Linked DNA regions of Homo sapiens: all the other regions are linked to region 2. Evidence: promoter capture Hi-C in 16 types of primary human blood cells and fetal thymus (Javierre and others, 2016). All regions are on one chromosome and are shown on one strand. Each heading gives the region's core, a stretch centred on a gene start or on the middle of the fragment in contact. The rest is flanking DNA. Distances are from core to core; before and after follow the strand shown. Region 1 overlaps LINC02577 (long intergenic non-protein coding RNA 2577). Region 2 holds the start of COG5 (component of oligomeric golgi complex 5). Region 3 holds the start of CTB-30L5.1 (a long non-coding RNA gene). Region 4 overlaps CCDC71L (coiled-coil domain containing 71 like). Region 5 has its middle 5.4 kb from the start of PIK3CG. Region 6 holds the start of LOC124901722 (a long non-coding RNA gene). Region 7 overlaps PRKAR2B (protein kinase cAMP-dependent type II regulatory subunit beta).

Region 1 (2,700 bases), core at 136-2,635, 770 kb after region 2:
GCTGTCAGCAGACAGTTGTCAGGTACCAACCCTTCAGGTCCACCTCAGTTGCAGAGAGCTGCCTTCCCCAAGGCCATTCCCTCCTGTGAGGCCCATATCCAGTGACTGATGGAGACAGGTGTAGAAAAGCCTGGCTCTTTGGCCCAGTGCTGGCCAATCCTTCCACCCTCCCCTTCTCTCCATAGGTACTAATCCTAAGGGCACTTCCTAGCAAACACCTACAACCTGAGTTCCCAGAGAACCCACCTTGCTAAACATGAGTTTGAATTTCATCTTAATGGCTCCTGAGGCCTGTGGCTTTGGGGAGACAATCACTTATTTTTTGTAAGGCTTAATGTCTTCATCCAATAAATGGGAATAATAGTAACTTCATAGGATTATTGTGTATGCGGAGTAATCCCTCATAAATATTAGATATCATAATCTTGGGCAAGTTTATGGCTTCTGGGAGCCTTGGATCCTTTATGCAAAAATGAGAACAATACTACTTACATCTCAGGATTTTGGTTAGACTTGTATGACATAATGTATGTCTTGTTACATGCGCAATAGATAAGAGCCCCCGCCCCCCACCATTTTCCCTTTAAAATACCCACGGAACCTTTATATAGTGAATTAAAAAAATAAGTTGTGTTTATTTTCTTTTTCTGTATTGCTTGCCCTTCATCAGTGTATAGGACATTTGTATTTGGAGGAGAAAAACTGAATGCAGAACAGAAAGGCAGGAGCTAGGGTGGAACCCTGGATTTGTGGCTCTGTTCTCTTTCGTCACAGCTCAATGGCCAGCTCCTCCGGGAAGCTCACCCTGACTAACTCAGTGCATTCTGCAAATTATTCATGCAACCATTGATGACCATCTCTTTTTCCTTGATTCACTTTTTTAGTTCTTATAATAATATATTTTCATGAATTACAGGATTTCTATGTTCTTATTGTAAGCCTCTGAGAAGCAGAGACGGTGTCTGTTTTTTAAGAGAGTATGCCTGGTGGAATACTACCATTTTCCCTGGGAGTGTTCATTTGTTACTGTGCTAGTTACCAGCAACGAACTCTTCCAACAGTGCTGAGTCCTCCTGCAGCCCCGAGATGCTCCAGGAATTCCCGCTGAATTGACAAGAAATCTGAGAGCCAGATGGGGCCTTCTGAGGCCCCCCAGTCCAACTCTGATCATCTTACCTTTCTGGAAACTTATTTTTGGTCATCTCCTTCCCTCATTTAAAGGCTCATGTGAAAATTTTTGCAAACCCATCTTTATTGTATCTTCTGTATTTTATAATTTGATAACTCTCAATTTTTAAAAAAGCTTGGTCAGTTCTAGGAACATTGTCTTACACTGACACCTGCTGGGCAGGTGGAAAAATAACAGGTACCTGTAACACTAGTGTCTTTTAGGACTAGAAGCAGAGAAACTCCATTCATCTTTCTTTAATAAGCATCTTTCTTACAACTATCCTAATTTTAAGCTTTCCTTTCCCTCTTCTCCCACTAAACCTAAAGTCTGGATTTTATATTTCTTGATGACTCTATTGCTAAAAGCCTATAGCACCATTAAACAACATCATTTCATAGATAACACTTAATGCTTAATGATGAACAATAATCCCGCTCATTACCTGTGACCTTGGTTCTGCAAGCACTATACCTCCAAACAACTGAGCTGTCGAGTGGGCCCCATGAAAAGTAGGTGGCCATTTTTAACCCTGGATTCACCCAGTTGGCCGGAACTGTGAGGCCATCTGATCTGGATCAGAGTGTCTCGGTGATGGAAGGAAGAGTCATTCAGTGTGAATGTCAGAGTTCTTATTTTGAAAGTTTTTCCAGGGATCACGACCCCAGTAAAAATTTATTTAAGTGTTTCATCATCCTAATGAGACTTTGTTATAAACCATGTCTCTCTCTCTCTGCTTTTATTTAAACACTTTTTTTTTCTGTCCAAACAAATTCCAGCTCTAATAGTCCTTTTATTCCAGGAAAGGATGGACAAACAAGTAAATAAAGTATATGATTTGTCAAATGATCATAAATGCTAAGTTTTACAAAAGGGCAGGAAGGAAGATAAGGATTGCGTGTGTGTGTTTGGGGAGGTGGTTGCTTACTGCTTATAGAGCCGTGTGGGGGATAAGGGCTGACCCAGGAGCCTTGGGTTTCTTGTGGTGACATAAACAAGGTTAGAAAGTATGCCGAGGCTGAGGCAGGAGGATCACTTGAGCCCAGGAGGTGGAGGTTGCAGTGAGCCAAGATCGTGCTATTACATTCCAGCCTGGGTGACAGAGACTCTGTTTCAAAACCAAAAAAAAAGTATGCTGAGGTTTAGAAAAGACTAATCAATATCCTATTTATTATAAAAACTTTATGATATTTTAATTTATTATCATAAAAACTTTACCAGATATACCAGTAGGCTATATTCTAATTATCCCCCTTACCAATCCCTTTCACTGTACTTTTTTGGGGTTTATTTAATAACTTAATCATTAAAAGTACTTTCTAGTTGGGTCCATACTTTTTTCCTGCAAGTGTTGATTTAGAGAGGAAGACAGGACCCAGGGTCTGAGCCTGTGGCATTTGTTAGCACTGCATGGGAACTAATTGATCCTCGGGGTCATCTGGAACTTGGAGAAGGAGGCACTGAAGAATTCAGTCGGGGTCACAGAGGAAGGGGCCTGATGCCTGGGATGGATGGGCCAGGCAGACTCAGTG
Region 2 (2,700 bases), core at 145-2,644:
GTACAATTGTTTGTTTAAATGGGTTCCTACCTTACCTATTAACTCCTTTTAGAATATGGATTGAGTCTTATGTTTGTAAACTCATGAGAGCATGCAGAGTAGAGGGGTCAAAACTTTCGCTGTATGAATGAATATTACTCACTCTTCTAAAATCTTCCACTGGGGGGAATAAAGCCAAGGAAGGAAAAACAATTCCTAATTCACAAGTAATGAATGAATCACCCCTATTCCCATCATGACTAAGATCTTACATACTAGGGAAAATCCTCTGAGACAAAGAGAGCATAATGCAGTGTAGCATAAGACTTGCTTACCTGAGGTGTTATGAGTATGAAATGCATTGAGTTATAAAATACTTAGAACAGCGATAAGCACAGGATAAGTAATAGCACCTTTTTGAAACAGAATGTAGAAAACCACGTAGCTCTGGAACTGGATAAAATTGGTTTCCTGGATACATACCTACTGTACAAAATGAAAAAGTCATCTTCCAGCTTCTTTTTGCGAAGAAGCTTAAGACTGTCTTGCATACTTGTGGTTGCCTGACCCTGTTAATTTATCAGTATTTATCTTAGAAGAAAGAAATCTAGGTCAAAAACGCGAACGTATTAGTAAAGAAGATACAATGGGAACCAACCTGATGCTCTTACAGCGTCAATACTGTTAGTTGAGATGTGGACCATCTATCAGTTTGTAATTAAGAAAAAGTCTGGCACGTGACTGAAACTGAGGAAGAAGTAGAAAAGGCAAAAGGTCAAAGGTCTCATGGGAAGGAAGGAGGGTAGAGACAGTGAGTTTTATTGGTCCTTTTATGGTTCAGACTTCCTTCTTCATCGACTCTCCCTAATTCTCTTCACTGTTCATCCCCAGCAACTTTTCTTCCCAAGCATTTCCTGCGGGCTTTTATTACCCCAGGAGTGCCAATCAAGGCGTGGAACAGATAAAGCTGTGTAGCAACTAACGCGTGACTCTTGTGAGTGTGGAGGGCAAACGAAGCTCCCTGAAACCTCCGCTCTGCTCTCCTGCCTTACGCCGCGCGGCCCCTGTTCTGAGGTTTAATACTTGCTTCACAGATAAGCGCTGCGGCCACGTTCCGGTGCCCACCTTCTCCTTGGCTAGGGCACGACGCCAGCCCAGGGGGCGCGGCCCTGAGCTGCTGCGAGAGACAGCTGAAAGCGCCGGCCCGACGGCCTTGGCTCCCTCGGTGCGCTGGGCGCAGAGCACTCGGACCCTGGGCGCCCACTGCTCGAGTACCTGCGCGGCTCCTAGCCAGGCTTAGCCCAGGCGCGGGCTGAGAGTCAGTTCGCCAGGTGGGCCTGGAGCCATGGGCTGGGTGGGCGGGCGGCGCCGGGATTCTGCGTCACCACCTGGGCGGAGCCGTTCTGCTGCTGACGACATCAACCCGGCACCTGCCAACATGGAAGGTGGCGGCGGCAGCGTCGCTGTAGCTGGCCTCGGAGCTCGAGGCTCTGGAGCGGCTGCAGCTACAGTCCGGGAACTTCTGCAGGACGGTAAGGAGACGGGGTCTGACCAGGTCGTGGGGTTGGGGGTCTGCGCTGCTCCGCACCTGGACAGCGAGGTGGACCCAACCCGTTGCTTTGCAGAAAGTTTTCCAGTCTGGACGTGACCACTCCCCTCCGCCCGGCCCCCTGGCTTGGGTACTGTTCTAGCCAACCTATTTACTCTGGGACTGGCTCCCTCTTTTCTGGAGTCTTGGGGACACTTGGTTTCTGTGTGTTCCTCATTTCAACTCGACCCCCCCCCCCCCCATGCCTCCAGCTTCCCTGAAGTTTCGGGAGCCCAAACCCTGTGGACCGCGTTGGCAGCCACCGGCTGCTGCCGCAGTTCTTGACGAAGGGGTGTAGCGTTCGAGCTCTTCAAAAGTGTAAGCTCTAGAACAGACGGCAGACGCATAATGAAATAGGGCCTTGTTTTAAAGTAGAGCTGGAAACGCTTACTCCTTTAACAAATGGACTGTACAGGTGACCCCTCTTACAGGCTGGTTTTTTTTTTCCTCCTTTATGAGGCAGTTATCTACAGTGACACGTGGGGGAGGGTTTGAGACATTTGTTCAGGTTGGGATTAACCATTTGTACAGAATCTAGCAGTCAGATTTTATTGCTAGTCAGTTTGGAGAGAAGTTGCCCAAAATAAGAAAAGTTAGATATAATATACTTGAAAAGCATATTCAGTTGTGTCAATCCAGTTACCATGTCCCGAATCTCTTATCCTTCAGAATAAAGTTCACATTTATAAGCATAAAAATAAAGCCCTTCTCACCTGTTCTTAATTTTTTCTCTAGTGGCCATCGCATTCTACCTTGTACTAAAATCATTTGTATACTTGTTTTAATCTCTTCTGTATTGCAAACTTTTTTTAATATCCCACAGTGTGAATAGCAGTATCTTGCATACAGTAGGTGCAGAATGTTTTTTAAATTCATCATCGCAGTTAGAAGCACATGCACACATTTGAAGACCGAAGTGGGTAATAAATGAAATAAAGTTCCAAATTATTGTTTATTTTCTCTGACTGTTAAATATTTTATTGTCATCCTGAATTACGTGCCTTTTCATGATAATTTATGTACTTTTGTCAAAAGCAATGATGTTTTCTGAACTATTTCATGTTGGAAACTCTAGGACCGGGTCTCTGTCTAAAACTTGGCTAAACTGAATTTAAACTTTAGATACAAGGCAG
Region 3 (2,700 bases), core at 101-2,600, 960 kb after region 2:
GGAACAGAACATGTACTCCCTTAATTGACACCAATGCATAGGGAGAGCACAGTAAGGACCACAGTAGATCCAGGGGATGAGGTACTGCCCTTCATTAGAAGCGAGGGCCCTTGGTGTGCCCCCGTATGGGAGGAGGGTTTACGAGAGGGCAGACAGTGGTGGGGAGAGAAAATTGGAATCCGATTTATAGTAATGGAATCTCAAAGGAATGCTACTATCTTATTCGTATGCTTCCCTATTATATGTATCCTAAGGAAAATTAATATTTTTTTCTCTAAATAGTTTTTTAAGGTAATATATATGTAGTAAAAATTCATATAGTATAAAAGGATATTCAATGAAAGTAAAGCTCTTTCCTACCCTATTCTCCATTATTCTTTCCCAGAGGTGACCACCAGTCTCAGTTTCTAGTCTTTTCCTTAAAAACCTTTAAGTATAGAAATGCATATTACATATACATTTATAACACACCATGCAAATATATCTAAATCCAAACCTAACTGTACATCTATATCTATATTTTAATATACAGTTGGTAGCATCCTATCATCAAGAGCTCTCTATTTTAGCTCATAAAGACATTATTATTATTTTAGTGCAGTAGGAACACATAACTTGAGGTCTACCTTCTTAGCAAATTTTTAAGTGTACATGATAGTGCACCATTATTTATTAAACTGCTACATTATATTACTACTATAACTGCATGATATTTAATCAGTTCCCTATTGATAAATATTTAATTTGTTTTGGTCTATTACTATTTCAAGCACTGCTGTAATGAAAGTCCTTGCACGTATGTGTATGAATCAGGGTCCAGCAGAAGCAGATGGCACATCCCAAGCTTACCTGACGAGTTTAGTCATGGAGGTACTATTTACACAGGTGCTGGCAGGATGAATAGAACCAGCAATAAATGGCTAAACATTCAGGAACTCCCAACAGTGACAAGCCTTCACCACCCCAGGCATGAAGGGATAAGGGGAGGGAGCAGTGTTACTAGAAGCCAGTGAGACCATGGCTGTGGGAGAGAGGCCAGCCAAACGGAGCTACAGCCACATGGTGAGGAATGGAGCCAGTAGCCAAACTGCAGCCATCAGAGTAGGAGCAAGAGGAATAAATACCCTGACTGCTATCTCCTTTTGCTCTCTGGTTTTCTGCTGGTTCTTCCAGCTGCTGAATAGAAGTGGAAGTCAGAGGTTGGGGAAGCCCAGGTGATGCAGTCCATGGAGGTCAGTCTGCAAGGTACAGGGTAGGCAGGGAGAGGAAGGATAAATGGGGAATAATCAGTGTAATATGTTGTTACACAAATGTGCCATTAATCTAGTAGAAATTTTCCTAGAAGTTGAATTGTGGTGTCAGCAGGAAGGAAAGAGCTGGCCACATGTCCCTCAATCTCCCTTCTCCTCCTCTTCCATGGTAATACAATGCAAAGCTGTGCAAATGGCGGCCCAGAATTAAGACTACATTTCCCAGCCTCCTTTGCAGCTAGAGCAGTGGAACGGGAAGTGTCGCGTGACAGCTTCTGAAAAACTTCTCTGAGAGACAGATGACAAGTGCCTTCTGTCCTCTATTCTTTATTCGTTTTTGTACTTCACATGCTGCCTAGGGCCACACCCTTTTGGTGGTGAGTGGGGAGCTGGAAGGAGCCAGGTTCTTGAGGACTTTATAGGGTAAGAGCTGCCCTGCCAGTTCTAAGCTATATACCTCCAGATTTTATTTATTTGGGAGAGAAATTAACTTTTACCTCGTTTAAGCAACAGTTATTTTCTTTTCTATGTCAAGTACCTAAATCTAATCCTAATGAATATAATGGGTATAAAATTTTTGAATTTTTATGGGTGTTGTCAAGCTTGGTTTATTTAATTTAAAAATATCTAATTGACAGATAAAAAGTATATATATATTCAAGGTGTACAACATGTTGATGTGATACACATATATGTACACTGGATACTGATTACTACGATTACTACAGTCAAATTAATTAACACATCTATTACAACCCGTAGTTAACATGTGTGCGTGTGTGTGTGGTGGTGTGGTGTTTTAAGTTGAATTTTCCAGACTTTCTGGGTTTGAATCTCAGCTTCTCCATTTACTAGACATGTGATCTTGAACAAGTTTCTTAATCATTTTGTGCCTTAGTGTTCTCATAGTGATAGTGATAGAAACTACCTCATTTGGTTGTTATGAGGAGTAAATGAGTTAGAATATCTGAAACACATAGAACGTCTATCTGACATAGCTGATACTCAAAAAAAGTAAGCTATTTATATTATTATTACTAGTATCATTTTTAATTGTCCTCCAAAGAAGATGTACCAATTTGTCTATTCACTGTCTGGAAGTGTCTCTTTCTCTCCTTTCATCAATACTGTGCATTAGCAAAGATTTTTGTCCAGTAAATGAATAGTGATATTTCATTTTATTTTAAATTACCATCTAAAATTTTAAGGTTGAATATCTTTTTATATTTTTATGCCATTTATATTTATTTTCTGGTGAATTTTCTGTTTGTGTGCTCTGTTCATGATTTTTTTTTGAAATAACTCTCGAATGTATAATGAAAATTAGCCTTTTGCATGCTATGGGTGGGGCAAATATTTTCCCAAGTTTTTATTTGTCTTTGACATTATTTTTTCCATACATAAATTTTAACATAGTAAAAATGATCCTTCTTTTTCATTATAACATCTG
Region 4 (2,700 bases), core at 143-2,642, 900 kb after region 2:
CCCCGGCCGCCACCCCCACCGCCGCCGCCCCCCGAGGAGAGCTGCCCGGCCAAGCCCGTGGCCCCCGGGCCCTGCTTCGGGGGCCGCACCTTGGAGGAGATCTGGAGGGCGGCCACCCCGACGCTGACCACCTTCCCCACCATCCGCGTCGGCAGCGACGTGTGGGGCGAGCGCAGCCTGGCGGCAGCGCGGCGCAGGGCGCGCCAGGTCCTGCGAGTGAACCTGGAACCCATGGTGAGGCTCCGCCGCTTCCCGGTGCCCCGGGCATGAGGTGCGGCCTCCAGGGCGCCTCCTGCCGGCCCCGACCTTGGGACAGGCCTTCCGCCCGGAGGAATGAACAAGTGTCAGTCGAGTGTTTACAGATCCGGCCAGGACCCCGGCCCCCAATGCACTTTACGCGCGAAGAAGTTGCCGGATGGTTGTCCCTGTCCCGGGCCGCGGCGCGGTCGTCTTGGACGCTGGGGCAGGTGTGCCCTCTGCTGCCTCCCGTACCCGGCCTGCGGAGGGAGGGGACAGCTGGACCCGCAGGGGAGGTCCCTTTCTTCCTGACCACCGATTGAGACGTCTCCAGGACCTTAGGGGCAGATCCGTTTTCTCACTGTTGGACTCTACCTCACTGGTCTGGAAGTCCTCCGAAGACATTATTTTTCCAAAGGAATTTGGTTTCGTGCTTGTGTAATAAAGCCAGAATTTACTTGTTCTTTATCTCCCCCTTTTTCTATTTCACTGTCACCCCTCTTTGTGGACAGAAGTTCGAACATGTGGTGTTGCACTAGTTTGTGCTCAGGGTATTCTGAAGCCCACTCGTTTCCTAATTTTTACTGGATTCCAAAGCTTTGATCGAGGATATTTTTTAAGAGGTTCAAGCTTGTGACTGTTAGTAGTGCAAGGATTTGTATGGGCTCAGTGATTACAAACAAAGACATGCAAAATACAACTGTTTAAACATTTTCAAGGTATTTTTAAAGGTTTTGTATTGAAACAATGTTTATATTTACTGAGCTCCTAAAAATGGTAGAATACACATGAAAACTTTTGTTTAGGAAAAGTTAACTTGTTAAATTCTTTTGAATTGAATAAAAAAATGCATTGAAACCATATGGTGTGTGATTAAAAAAAATGAATAAATTGTGAAGAACTGGTTTTGGTTACAGGAGTCACTGGAATCCGACTGGAGATGATTTGGCCCCCTGTCCTGGTCTAACATACAAATCTAGGAATATTATGCGTTAAAGTATTTTAAAATACATTATCCTTGTAATGTATTTTACAAGGATAATGTATTTTAAAATGGGAGTTGCATAGGAGAGATGGATGTGTGTAAACATTATCACTAAAATGATAAACAGAATACCCATTAGAATTCTTAGAACTATTAATGATCAAGAGGGGTGGAGGCATTTCTTGGTATCAAATAACTGGTTAAGGTTACTTTGGGCGAAATCTATTTCCTTTTTGTTTTTGTTGTTGGATAACAAGAAATGTCTAGACTAATATTCATCAGTTTTACAAACATAATGAAAATTAGTTGATTTTTAGTTGATTTTTTTGTCCCAACATTTTTTTTAACCTTTTTGCCACTCATTATATGTTTGCAGTTCTAGGTCTTTGACAGCTGAAGACCACAGGAATCAAACAGGCGAGACACACAGAATACTGACCCTTCTTTACGCTTTTATAGTGTTTATACCATATGGCCCAGTGTGGAATTCTTGATTATCCAAGTGCCTTTGGTCATTTGTGGCAGGAAAACTTAATAGTTTTTAGCCAGCAGTGCCACAGCCAGCTTTTACTGCAATACCTAAAGGGTCAAGTAGTGTTTTTGTACCACTATTATTTCAAATTTAAGTATTCTGCCATGAAACGATCCATACTGGGCTGGAACTTGACATGTGAAATCTTTAATACTAAAGCTTATCTCTGCTTGGCAGCTTTTTAGGAGAATAATGAGAGTTACAATTTTGACTCTTGCGTTCCTAGAATTCAAATGGCATAGCTTTCTGAAATGAGTATTTCAAGTTTAGTAGTCCGTATAGGAGTGTTGTGACTTCAATTTCAGTGTTCTTGTTAAAAGAAATAATATGATATATATATACACACATATATATAACTTGATGCCAGTTTTCTAGTAAGCCTCAGTCTTTTATTCACTACTCAATGATAATGCATTGTACAAACACTGTCACATGAGTAAATAAAAATGAATAATTCCTTAGAAGATGGAGAGTGTTAAATTATATTTGTGATAGGAAGCTTAGACATATCTTTTGGTTATTAGCTTCCATTGCCAATTGTATTTCAGATGCATAGGGTTTTCTTCCCAAAAATATATTGTTAACTTTTATAGCTAACTAGCACCTGGAAAAAATGTATTTGTACAACTTTACTATTGTATATAGTTTTATAATAATGAAAAATAAACCCAATGGCCATATTAGAATGCAATTTCGACATACAGCTTATCTAGATAGTTTTCCAGAGGATTTTGAAATTTGGCTTAACTGGGAGGATAACTGCTCAGCACACCACTGAAACATAACCACTGACACCATTCATTTATTTTAACTGAGATTCTTGACATTTTTCTCTCCTATGCCTTGTTACTTTAGCATACTTGAACTCACATAAATGCTTCTTTGGATTACATGGGCTATCTGATTCCATTTTGGATCTGATTGTCCATCTTGAATTCAATATGGT
Region 5 (2,700 bases), core at 139-2,638, 700 kb after region 2:
TTGTATTTTTAGTATAGACTGGGTTTCACCACATTGGCCAGCCTGGTCTTGAACTTCTGACCTCAAGTTATCCACCTGCCACAGCCTCCAAAAGTGCTGAGATTACAGGTGTGAGCCACCACACCTGGCCTGCATAATACTTTAGACCTTTTATGATTTATCCCTTATGAACTATCCTTAACTCTTTCTTCCAGATTCTCCTCTTCCAATTCCCTTCCATGATTGAATTCCACCAATTTCTGCTTTCATACCTTCTGTGTTCCACCACACCTCTGTGCCTCTGTGTGCCACTCCCTATGTCCTATTCCCTCCCCTCATTCTCTCTCCTCTCCCTCCCCCTTCTCTCATCCCCTCAGCCATTTGACCAGCTCCTGCTTCATTGGTATTCAGAGTGAGTAACCTCCACTGAGAGGGCTTTCTGGTCAGGAAAGCATAGGGTTAGGGAAGCTTTCTCCCAATAGTAACCACCACAATAACAATATCACCACCAATAAGTGGAAGCTCTTCTTTAGGGAAGGGTCTCACTCTGTTGCTCAGGCTGGAGTACAGTAGTGCAATCTCAGCTCACTGCAGGCTTGACCTCCCGGGCTCAAGTGATCCTCCCATCTCAGCCTCTCAAGTAGCTGGAACTACAGGTGTGAGCCTCCATACCCGGCTAATTTTTTGTATATTTACTAGAGATGAGATATTGCCATGTTGCCCTGGCTGGTCTGGAACGCCTGGGTTCAAGTGATCTGCCTGCCTTGGCCTCCCAAAGTGTTGAGATTACAGGCGTGAACCACTGTGCCTGGCTCACAAACTCTTTTATGGCACTTTCTTTGAGTCTTACGTTGATCTAAGAACTTTAGTACATTCATTCATTTAATCCTCACATCCTTCCAAGGGGAGAGGCACTACTATTGTCTCCACTTACAGGTGCTAAAAGCAAGGCACAGAGAAGTTGAGTGGCTTGCCCTTGGTGCCACAGGTGGTAAGTGGCAGTCATCATAGCACTTCTCCTGGGTGAGGACAGCTGGTGACTGGGCTGCCTCCTCTACCCGACTGGGTTCTTTGAGTGACTGCTCTGTATTGACTCGCTGTATTCCCCAGAGCTTAATACAGTGCTTGCCACATACAAAGCCAAGGCCTTGATAAATGTTGGTGGAATGGTTAGTTTGTATAGAGTCTCTCTTTTTGGAAGCCATTGGATTCCTTTGTATTTACAGGAAGCAATGGGAGTACTGAGTGATATTCGCAAAGCCTCCCAGACTAACCAAAACCCAGACAGCCCCTCCCTTCCATGTAACCATGTAACGTAAAACTCTCCAATCTGCCTCCTCTTCAAACCTTGCAATGTGAAACTTGGGAGGAAAATGGTCTGTAGGGTGTGGAACTTAGGAGGGAACCTAGTTTGACATTATAAGAAACCACAATCCTTTAGAAACATCTCCTTTATAGCTCTTATTTGGTCCAATTTAGTAGTTTTCTTTGTTGTTCCATTCCTAATATTGACTGAAGTATAAGACCAAAGACCGTTGGTACCGTGTCCTGTGAGCCAGAAATCCTCCCATGGAATGGATATCCAGACCCATCCCTGAGTCCCTGCCTTCAGAATTACCTGCTTGCTGCTAAGGAATTTTATCTACCTACCTATGCACCTATCTAGTCACCTACCTAACTGTCTCATCCACGTCTCACACACACACCATGATCCTGACAGAGACAAAGCTGATTGCAATAAGGGAGTAGTTTCCGAACCAAATCTGTTTCCTTCCTTCATAGGATTTTCCCTGTTCAAGAGCATAGCAGAGGGTCCTAGGAGAGAGGAAGAATGAGTAGACCAGCTTAGTTGGAGTCTGCTCTCAAATCCCTGGCCCTGAGGCTGGAAGGGAGATTATAATAGGAGCTGCTTCTCAGGCCTTCTTAGGGAACATTGTTCCTTCCAAAGCCCTGGGTTCTCAGCTTTGAGTCTGGCAGGAGTCACATCCAGCTGGAAGGAAGCCAAGAGGGTGCCCCACCTCTCCAGGTTCAGAAAAAGGTCACAGGAGCAAAGCAGGCTTGGGCTGGGAAGTGGGTGTTGGGGCTGGCCGGGAGCCAAGTGCTTTTCTGGTCCCCAGGAGGGTGAGCCGGGTCACTGTGAGGCCACGGCCCTGCACCTCCTTCTTCTTCTTTTCAAGCAAAAATCAACTTTATTCCAGTGGCCTCTGTACTGCTTTCTTCTCTGATGGGTAGACAAGGACCTTGCGGGCCACGGGCACTAGCTCCTGCAGGGACCTGGGGCGGGACAGGAAGGGATCTCTACCTGCCTTGCTCTATACCTAGGAGGAATATTTTTGCCTTCAAAGCTTGGCCTGCATTTTCTGGAATTACCCATCATGTGTGTCTGTTGAATCAAGTGAGAATTTTCTGCAGATTGGGAAATGCCTTGCAGGGTGTGTCTCAGTGAGGGCTCGAGTTCCCCCGGGTGTGCCCCTCTGCTGCCATAGCGGTTCTCATTTTCTTTTCAAATAGATGCCTTGGCAGTCTCCATTCCTCCAGCCTTTTTCATTCTCTCCTCCTCCCCTCTTGCCTCCTTTTCTTTTAAAATAGTATGTACAACCTGAAAGGGAGGAGCTTCTGGGTTGCTGGTAGTTTCTTGATGCGGTGCCGGCCTAGCTTATGATCAGTTTGTGGAAGTTCATGAAGCTTGGCACATACAAAGCTTGTGCACTCAATGATCAC
Region 6 (2,700 bases), core at 22-2,521, 960 kb before region 2:
CTGAAGGCATTAGTCTGCTATTATACACAAGATAATCTCCAATTTTGCATACTACTGAATTTGTTTGAAATTAAATATAATTCTCTTTTGTCTCAAAACTGCCCAACATCAAAAGAATCATAAATGGGTTTTATTTTCCATTTTTAACTTATCAAACTAGTAATCTAAATGAAACTAAAAATCAATTCAATAATACAGAATTTTAGAGAGTCTACTATTTGTTGGATGTTACGCTAGATCCAGACAATACAGTTTACCTTACGCTCCTTGACTGCAGGAAACTGGCAGGCATATAAACAAATAAATTATAATACTGTGCAGCAAGGGCAATAAGAGAAGTGAGCACAGGTGGAAGGAATGATTCATTCTATGAGTAGTGAGGTAAGATTTTCCTGGCTGAAGGACAAACAAATCTTTAGGAGGACAAGGTGGAAGGGGAGCTAAGCCAACAGCATGACCAAGGCACTAAGTATGAAAAGGAACAAGAGTATCTGGGGAAGTACAGGTGTGGCTGGAGGATAGAGAGTGAGAGGCAAGTGGTGAAAGTAAAGGCTGGAAGGTCAGCAGGGTCAGAACCTATAATTTCATTCGGTATATTCTGTGAAGATGTACAGCCAGCAAAAGCTTTTTAATTCGGGAAAACACGATTGGACTTGCACTTTCAAAAGATTACCGTGGTTGCACAGAAGAGACTGACTGGGTCAGAGGTTAGTTACAGGCTGGAAAACCAGTTTAGATGAAACTGAAGAGCAAGGATGAAAGCCTGAACTAGAGCAGTGGAAATGCGAATGTGGAGCAGAGGAACGATTCAAGAAATTCTGCGGTAAAACTCATCAGACTTCATGACTGATTAAAGGTATGGTGGTAGACAAGGGAGGGAGAGGAAGGATAAGAATGGAGAAGCAGGAATTGGGCGTTATTTGAAAATTTCTGACATGGGAGGAAAATCTGGATATTTAATAACATCTGACTAAATTAGGGGATGAAAGAGCATAAGCGGAGAGGGAATGGTGGTGCTCTCTCCTTGACCATACTTTAGTTAGGCTCCTCTGAGCCCTCTTCCCAACTAGGCCTCATCCTTGGGCCCCTGTCTTAGGCCTGCTGAGTCCAGTTTTAGCAAGAATCTTGCAAAGTCAGTTTAGAGAGTATCTCCTAGCCTTGATAATTGATCATCTCCGCCTGTCTTCAGCAAGAATCTTGTAAGTCACTTTAACAAGAATATCCCCGACCCTTGATATCACTTCTTAGTAATTTTCCATGAACTGACCCCTCAGTCTGCTTGCTGGTTATAAATCCTAGCTGTTTTTGTTGTATTAAAACTTGAGGCCAATCTCTCTCCCCCATGGTGATAGTCATGGCACCTATTGCAATAGTTCTAAATGTCTTCCTTGACATTTTAACAAGTGTCAGAATAATTTTTCTTTAGCAACAAGGAGGAATCTGTCTCAAAAACTAAAGCTCCTTCCACACGCCTGTAAGGCTTAATTGGTGCATACATCTTTTAACTCTCCTGTAGCTAAATAACATGTCTGGCTTATCCACTGCTGGGGTTTACCAGGCATTATGATGTACATAATCCAGACACTGTGTCCCAAGAACATAGCAAGCTGGCTTTCCCTCCTTGATTTAAAAAAATCAAAACAACACAACTATCAGGGTAACATCCACTACATTTGACAGGTCAAAGAATCCCCTTCCTTAAGGACTTTACAATAACCTTACAGGGGGCTAAAGCATACATACCCATGGGTAGTGGGTAAGCCTTGAGAGTACAGTATAAGTCTTGATAACATTTTGAGGTTGATAACTAGTTGAAACTGATCTGTTTTCCCGACCTCAACGTAATTGCAAGGTCACTTCAAGAGGGTAAGGGGCTATTGCAACTACCCAAATTCGCTATTGTAGTATAAAAGCTTTAATTAACAGCATGTATAGGAATGCAAAGCTATGTTCTAATGAAACTTTAAAAAGCAGACACAAATATGAATGTCATATAATTGTCATCTGTCGCAAAACTTTTTTTTTAACCTTTGAAAAATGTGAAACCCATTTTTAGCTCCTAGTACAGCAGAACCTGCGGTGGGCTGGATTTGCCCTGAGGGCTGTAGTTTGCCCCTGTGGTACGTATGAAATGCCACAATTTTAAAAAGATGTGTTACGTGTGGGACCATTTGTGGGGCGGTTTATGCTAACTTCCAATACAGTAATATATGTCAACTCGCTTTTGAGTGACATTTAGTCTGGGTGGCCATGCCCAGGAATGGATATAGAGAAAGGGGCGCGGCCGCGCCGGGCACCACCCTCCAAGAGACTGGTATCGCAGCCCCCAGCTCCAAGGAACTCAGCGCAGGCAGGGGCTTCAGGGACGCGGAGAGGGAGGCTTATCTCTGCTGAAAGGGAATAGCGGCCCGCAAACAAGCAAACCAGGACACTGCTCCGAGGTCCCGCCCAGGAAGGCAAAACGAAGTCCCACCGCTCTCACACCCGGCAACCAACCAAGGCACAGCACGCCCCACCAGCAAGCCACGCCTCGCGCATCACGCACGCACGCACGCACGCACACACGTCTGTCGCGGCTTCCCGCCTTGCGCTCCGTCATGCTCTATTGCGCATATCTCGGGGCGGGGGAGGAACGGAGATTGACAAGGAGGCAGAGGCCTGAGCGAGGCGGAAAATCCTCACCCCGGCCCGCGGGTAGAC
Region 7 (2,700 bases), core at 164-2,663, 520 kb after region 2:
AATTGCCCAGTATCTGGGGTTCTTTTCTAATGAGACACATTTCTGGACATAGATGTCAAACTGATAGGCTCATACTTTTTAGGATCACTCCTGTTTTTTCCCCCAATGGTACTATTTTGACTTTTTTTTTTTTCTTCTAACCAGGGGTCGGCAAGCTATGGCCTTGATCTGCAGCTAATTTTGTACAACCGCAACCCTCAGAAGGTGTATGTGTTTAAAAAAAAAAACTGAAGAAGAAGTGATCAAGACCACATGTTGCCCTAAGTCTAAAACACTTACTAACCGGCCCTTTACAAGAAACCTTGCCAATCACTTTGTAGCCTATAATTAAATGTTTTTCAACTGGAGGTCTCAATACAATTTAAAATAGGGAGAAATAACTGATTCAAATAGGAAATATCAAAAAGCACTGCATCTGACAGAAGGAAGTACCTGTACTATTGCCAAAGTTTCTGTTATACAGATGTATGTGCCTCCTGGATAATGATCAAATTGTATTTGGTTGCAGTCAAAAAGTTTTAAAGTCCTTGGGGGTGAGGCTAGGGAGTAAATAGTGCAATTGTTTAACAAGTTTAACTTGTTTAAGTCACACTGAGCAATTTTTACAGCAAAGGTGCCTTGGAGAATATAAAGCCATATAAAATGACCCCTGCTGTTCAGAAGTTAACGGCTTATTTCTTCACTACAAAATGAAAATGGAATCTTTTCTGTGCGCAATATATTGTTATAAGGAGAAAATGCAATCATCAATGCAAAGTACTTCAACAAATGCATTATACAAACAAAATATTTTGATTATATTAACAACATATCATACAGAATATATATATATATATGGTCTTTACCAAGCCCCTTAGTTCCTAGTTTTCTCCAACCTGGGAAAAGAGTCCTTTTTTTCCCCTTTGTGTGTGTGCACGAACATGTCAGGAGCATAAAAGAAGTATTAGATATCTCTGCCCTTTCTGTCATCCGTTACTGGCTGCTGCTTCTTACCTATTTAAAACATGCATTCTTTTCTCTTTCTCGTTTCTGGTAGGAAAAGCTTTTGATTCGATTCTTGTGCAAAAAGAATTATTAAGACTATGTTTATCCTCTTGGGGAAACATTTAGAAGTCCAAAATTAAAATTGTAAGTAACAAGCTTCACTTTTATCTTCACAGCGCACTAATTTCCAGGGTTTCTGGGATTCTTTTGGAGAAACTAAAAATACACTAATTTTATAATCCATTTCAACATGTAATCCTGCAAAGAAAAGAAACATCTTCCTAGGAGCATACACAAGGAAATGAAATGACACTTTTAAATGTTTTCATTTTATGAAATACACTGCGGACACACAAACCACAAGCAGTGTAAATAAATAAAAGCTGGTGCAATGCTGCATGCATGTTTGCCTTACACCACAAAGAGAAAACACTTGCACACTGCACTCCATGGTATTTTAGCTTGGGTTGCCATAAAAATGAGATTTGGGCATGTTGTGTAATACAAGGGGCTGTAAATGAGGGTGTGTGTCTGGGTGTGTTAGGGAAAGAGGGTTGTAAGCAGAAGGGGTGGGACTTGCCAGGAGCAGCTATTTGAGAAAATTCCTTTTTCTTTCCCATTCATTCTTTCTAGCTCTACTGTCTGGCACAATCCTTACAATTACTCACTGGCTTTTCATTCTAAAGACAACCAACAAGCTTTCAGAACTTCCTACAGTGTTTTTCTCATACACTTTTAAAAAAATAAAGCACCAAATCATTCAATATGTCTTTTATATAAAAAGCAAACCATTAACCCATTTCCTCGTTCCAAAGACCCCCGTGGGTTTCAGACTAAATAGAATCCTTTGTTACGTGTCCAAAAATAACACAACACGGTATTGGTAAATTGGAAAATAATAGATAACTCTTATTTCCAAGAATGTCAGAGCTACTGGCCATAAATTTTGTTCTGCCCCAGTGAGTCCAATTTCATGCTTCTTTTAGCGAATCTACCGTCCTAACAACAGTAAAGCCAATCATATTAAACACGGTTCTCCTTTTCTCTTTCGACATTCCATTAATAAATACAAGGGCTGAAAGAAGACGCCAAGCGGGCCAGTTTCTTTATGCACAATGGTATCCTCTAAGCGAAATACCTCCAACCACAGCGAAAGTTGTCTTTCTAGCAGATGCCCACCCCAACCGGCCCAGGCAGAGGGGGCAAAGGGTAAGAGGGAAGCGTAACATCCCAGCTCTCCCACCTCTAGAGGAAGGGAAGAGGGTATGACAGAGAGCGGAGTAGGAAGGTGGGCGAGTGGGAGAGACAGAAATGGATGCTGAGGGGGTGGGCGAGATGGGAAGGTAGGGAAAGGTGGAGAATGCGGGGAGAGGTGGGTGCGCAAAGCGGCAAGATCCGAGAGCACAGCGGGGAGCGGTGGGGGGCAGCGAGGGGATCCGGGGGCGCGAAGTGGGGGGTCTGGTCCTCACCATTGAACGCCCCTGCGTCCGCGGGCGCCGCCTCCTCCTCCTCCCCGTCCTCGGAGTCGGACTGCATGGGCTCCTCGGCGAAGTTGACCCCCTTGCTGGGGGTGCCGCCCCCGGCAGCGGCGCCCAGGTCCCCCCAGGTCCTGCCCTCATGGCCGAAGCGCGCGGTGCCTTTGCGCTCGTTCTCCTGCTGCAGGCGGGTGAAGTGCTGCAGCGCGAACTCCAGCAGGTCCGCGGGCTGGTGCCTCAG

What was found. Contacts are between HindIII fragments. The CHiCAGO score rates a contact against its expected background, and 5 or more counts as called.
Region 1: a contact is called between a fragment that was not itself captured here and the fragment with the promoter of COG5 in region 2, in 4 of 17 cell types (fetal thymus, naive CD4 T cells, total CD8 T cells and 1 more). The highest score is 8.0, in fetal thymus.
Region 3: a contact is called between a fragment that was not itself captured here and the fragment with the promoter of COG5 in region 2, in 1 of 17 cell types (fetal thymus). The highest score is 9.8, in fetal thymus.
Region 4: a contact is called between a fragment that was not itself captured here and the fragment with the promoter of COG5 in region 2, in 1 of 17 cell types (fetal thymus). The highest score is 7.6, in fetal thymus.
Region 5: a fragment that was not itself captured here is called in contact with the fragment with the promoter of COG5 in region 2 in 1 of 17 cell types (non-activated CD4 T cells); the score reaches 5.1 in non-activated CD4 T cells.
Region 6: a fragment that was not itself captured here is called in contact with the fragment with the promoter of COG5 in region 2 in 1 of 17 cell types (fetal thymus); the score reaches 5.3 in fetal thymus.
Region 7: a contact is called between a fragment that was not itself captured here and the fragment with the promoter of COG5 in region 2, in 1 of 17 cell types (fetal thymus). The highest score is 6.8, in fetal thymus.

What each region holds. Positions count from the first base shown.
Region 1 is chr7:106,791,856-106,794,555 of GRCh38, reverse strand. The region is part of intron 1 of LINC02577 (long intergenic non-protein coding RNA 2577); the gene reads right to left. Among named protein-coding and RNA genes, the nearest start is that of LINC02577, 18 kb to the right of the region's middle. The HindIII fragment of the contact is 160 bases long and covers 1,306-1,465 here.
Region 2 is chr7:107,562,614-107,565,313 of GRCh38, reverse strand. It overlaps COG5 (component of oligomeric golgi complex 5), which reads left to right and starts at 1,394. Exons shown (of 22, transcript NM_006348.5): 1 at 1,394-1,511. The coding sequence starts at 1,418. DUS4L-BCAP29 (DUS4L-BCAP29 readthrough) reads right to left here and starts at 1,343. Exons shown (of 13, transcript NR_163941.2): 1 at 1,105-1,343; 2 at 638-726. It overlaps DUS4L (dihydrouridine synthase 4 like), which reads right to left and starts at 1,343. Exons shown (of 8, transcript NM_181581.3): 1 at 1,105-1,343; 2 at 638-726. RefSeq lists enhancers at 1-816, 1,347-1,466 and silencers at 1,167-1,266, 1,305-1,515. The HindIII fragment of the contact is 2,647 bases long and covers 515-2,700 here.
Region 3 is chr7:106,597,727-106,600,426 of GRCh38, reverse strand. It overlaps CTB-30L5.1 (a long non-coding RNA gene), which reads left to right and starts at 1,580. Exons shown (of 4, transcript NR_187788.1): 1 at 1,580-1,673. RefSeq lists an enhancer at 1,422-1,471. The HindIII fragment of the contact is 1,008 bases long and covers 847-1,854 here.
Region 4 is chr7:106,657,759-106,660,458 of GRCh38, reverse strand. It overlaps CCDC71L (coiled-coil domain containing 71 like), which reads left to right. Exons shown (of 1, transcript NM_175884.6): 1 at 1-2,700. The coding sequence ends at 270. Among named protein-coding and RNA genes, the nearest start is that of CCDC71L, 2.0 kb to the left of the region's middle. RefSeq lists a silencer at 1-127 and an enhancer at 478-527. The HindIII fragment of the contact is 1,046 bases long and covers 870-1,915 here.
Region 5 is chr7:106,858,539-106,861,238 of GRCh38, reverse strand. No RefSeq gene overlaps it. Among named protein-coding and RNA genes, the nearest start is that of PIK3CG, 5.4 kb to the left of the region's middle. The HindIII fragment of the contact is 1,877 bases long and covers 450-2,326 here.
Region 6 is chr7:108,526,213-108,528,912 of GRCh38, reverse strand. LOC124901722 (a long non-coding RNA gene) reads right to left here and starts at 2,438. Exons shown (of 2, transcript XR_007060473.1): 1 at 1,268-2,438. It also overlaps a transcript of PNPLA8 not described here. RefSeq lists enhancers at 2,160-2,499, 2,681-2,700. The HindIII fragment of the contact is 1,289 bases long and covers 627-1,915 here.
Region 7 is chr7:107,044,968-107,047,667 of GRCh38, reverse strand. PRKAR2B (protein kinase cAMP-dependent type II regulatory subunit beta) reads right to left here. Exons shown (of 11, transcript NM_002736.3): 1 at 2,454-2,700. Among named protein-coding and RNA genes, the nearest start is that of PRKAR2B, 1.6 kb to the right of the region's middle. RefSeq lists silencers at 2,570-2,700, 2,651-2,700. The HindIII fragment of the contact is 542 bases long and covers 1,143-1,684 here.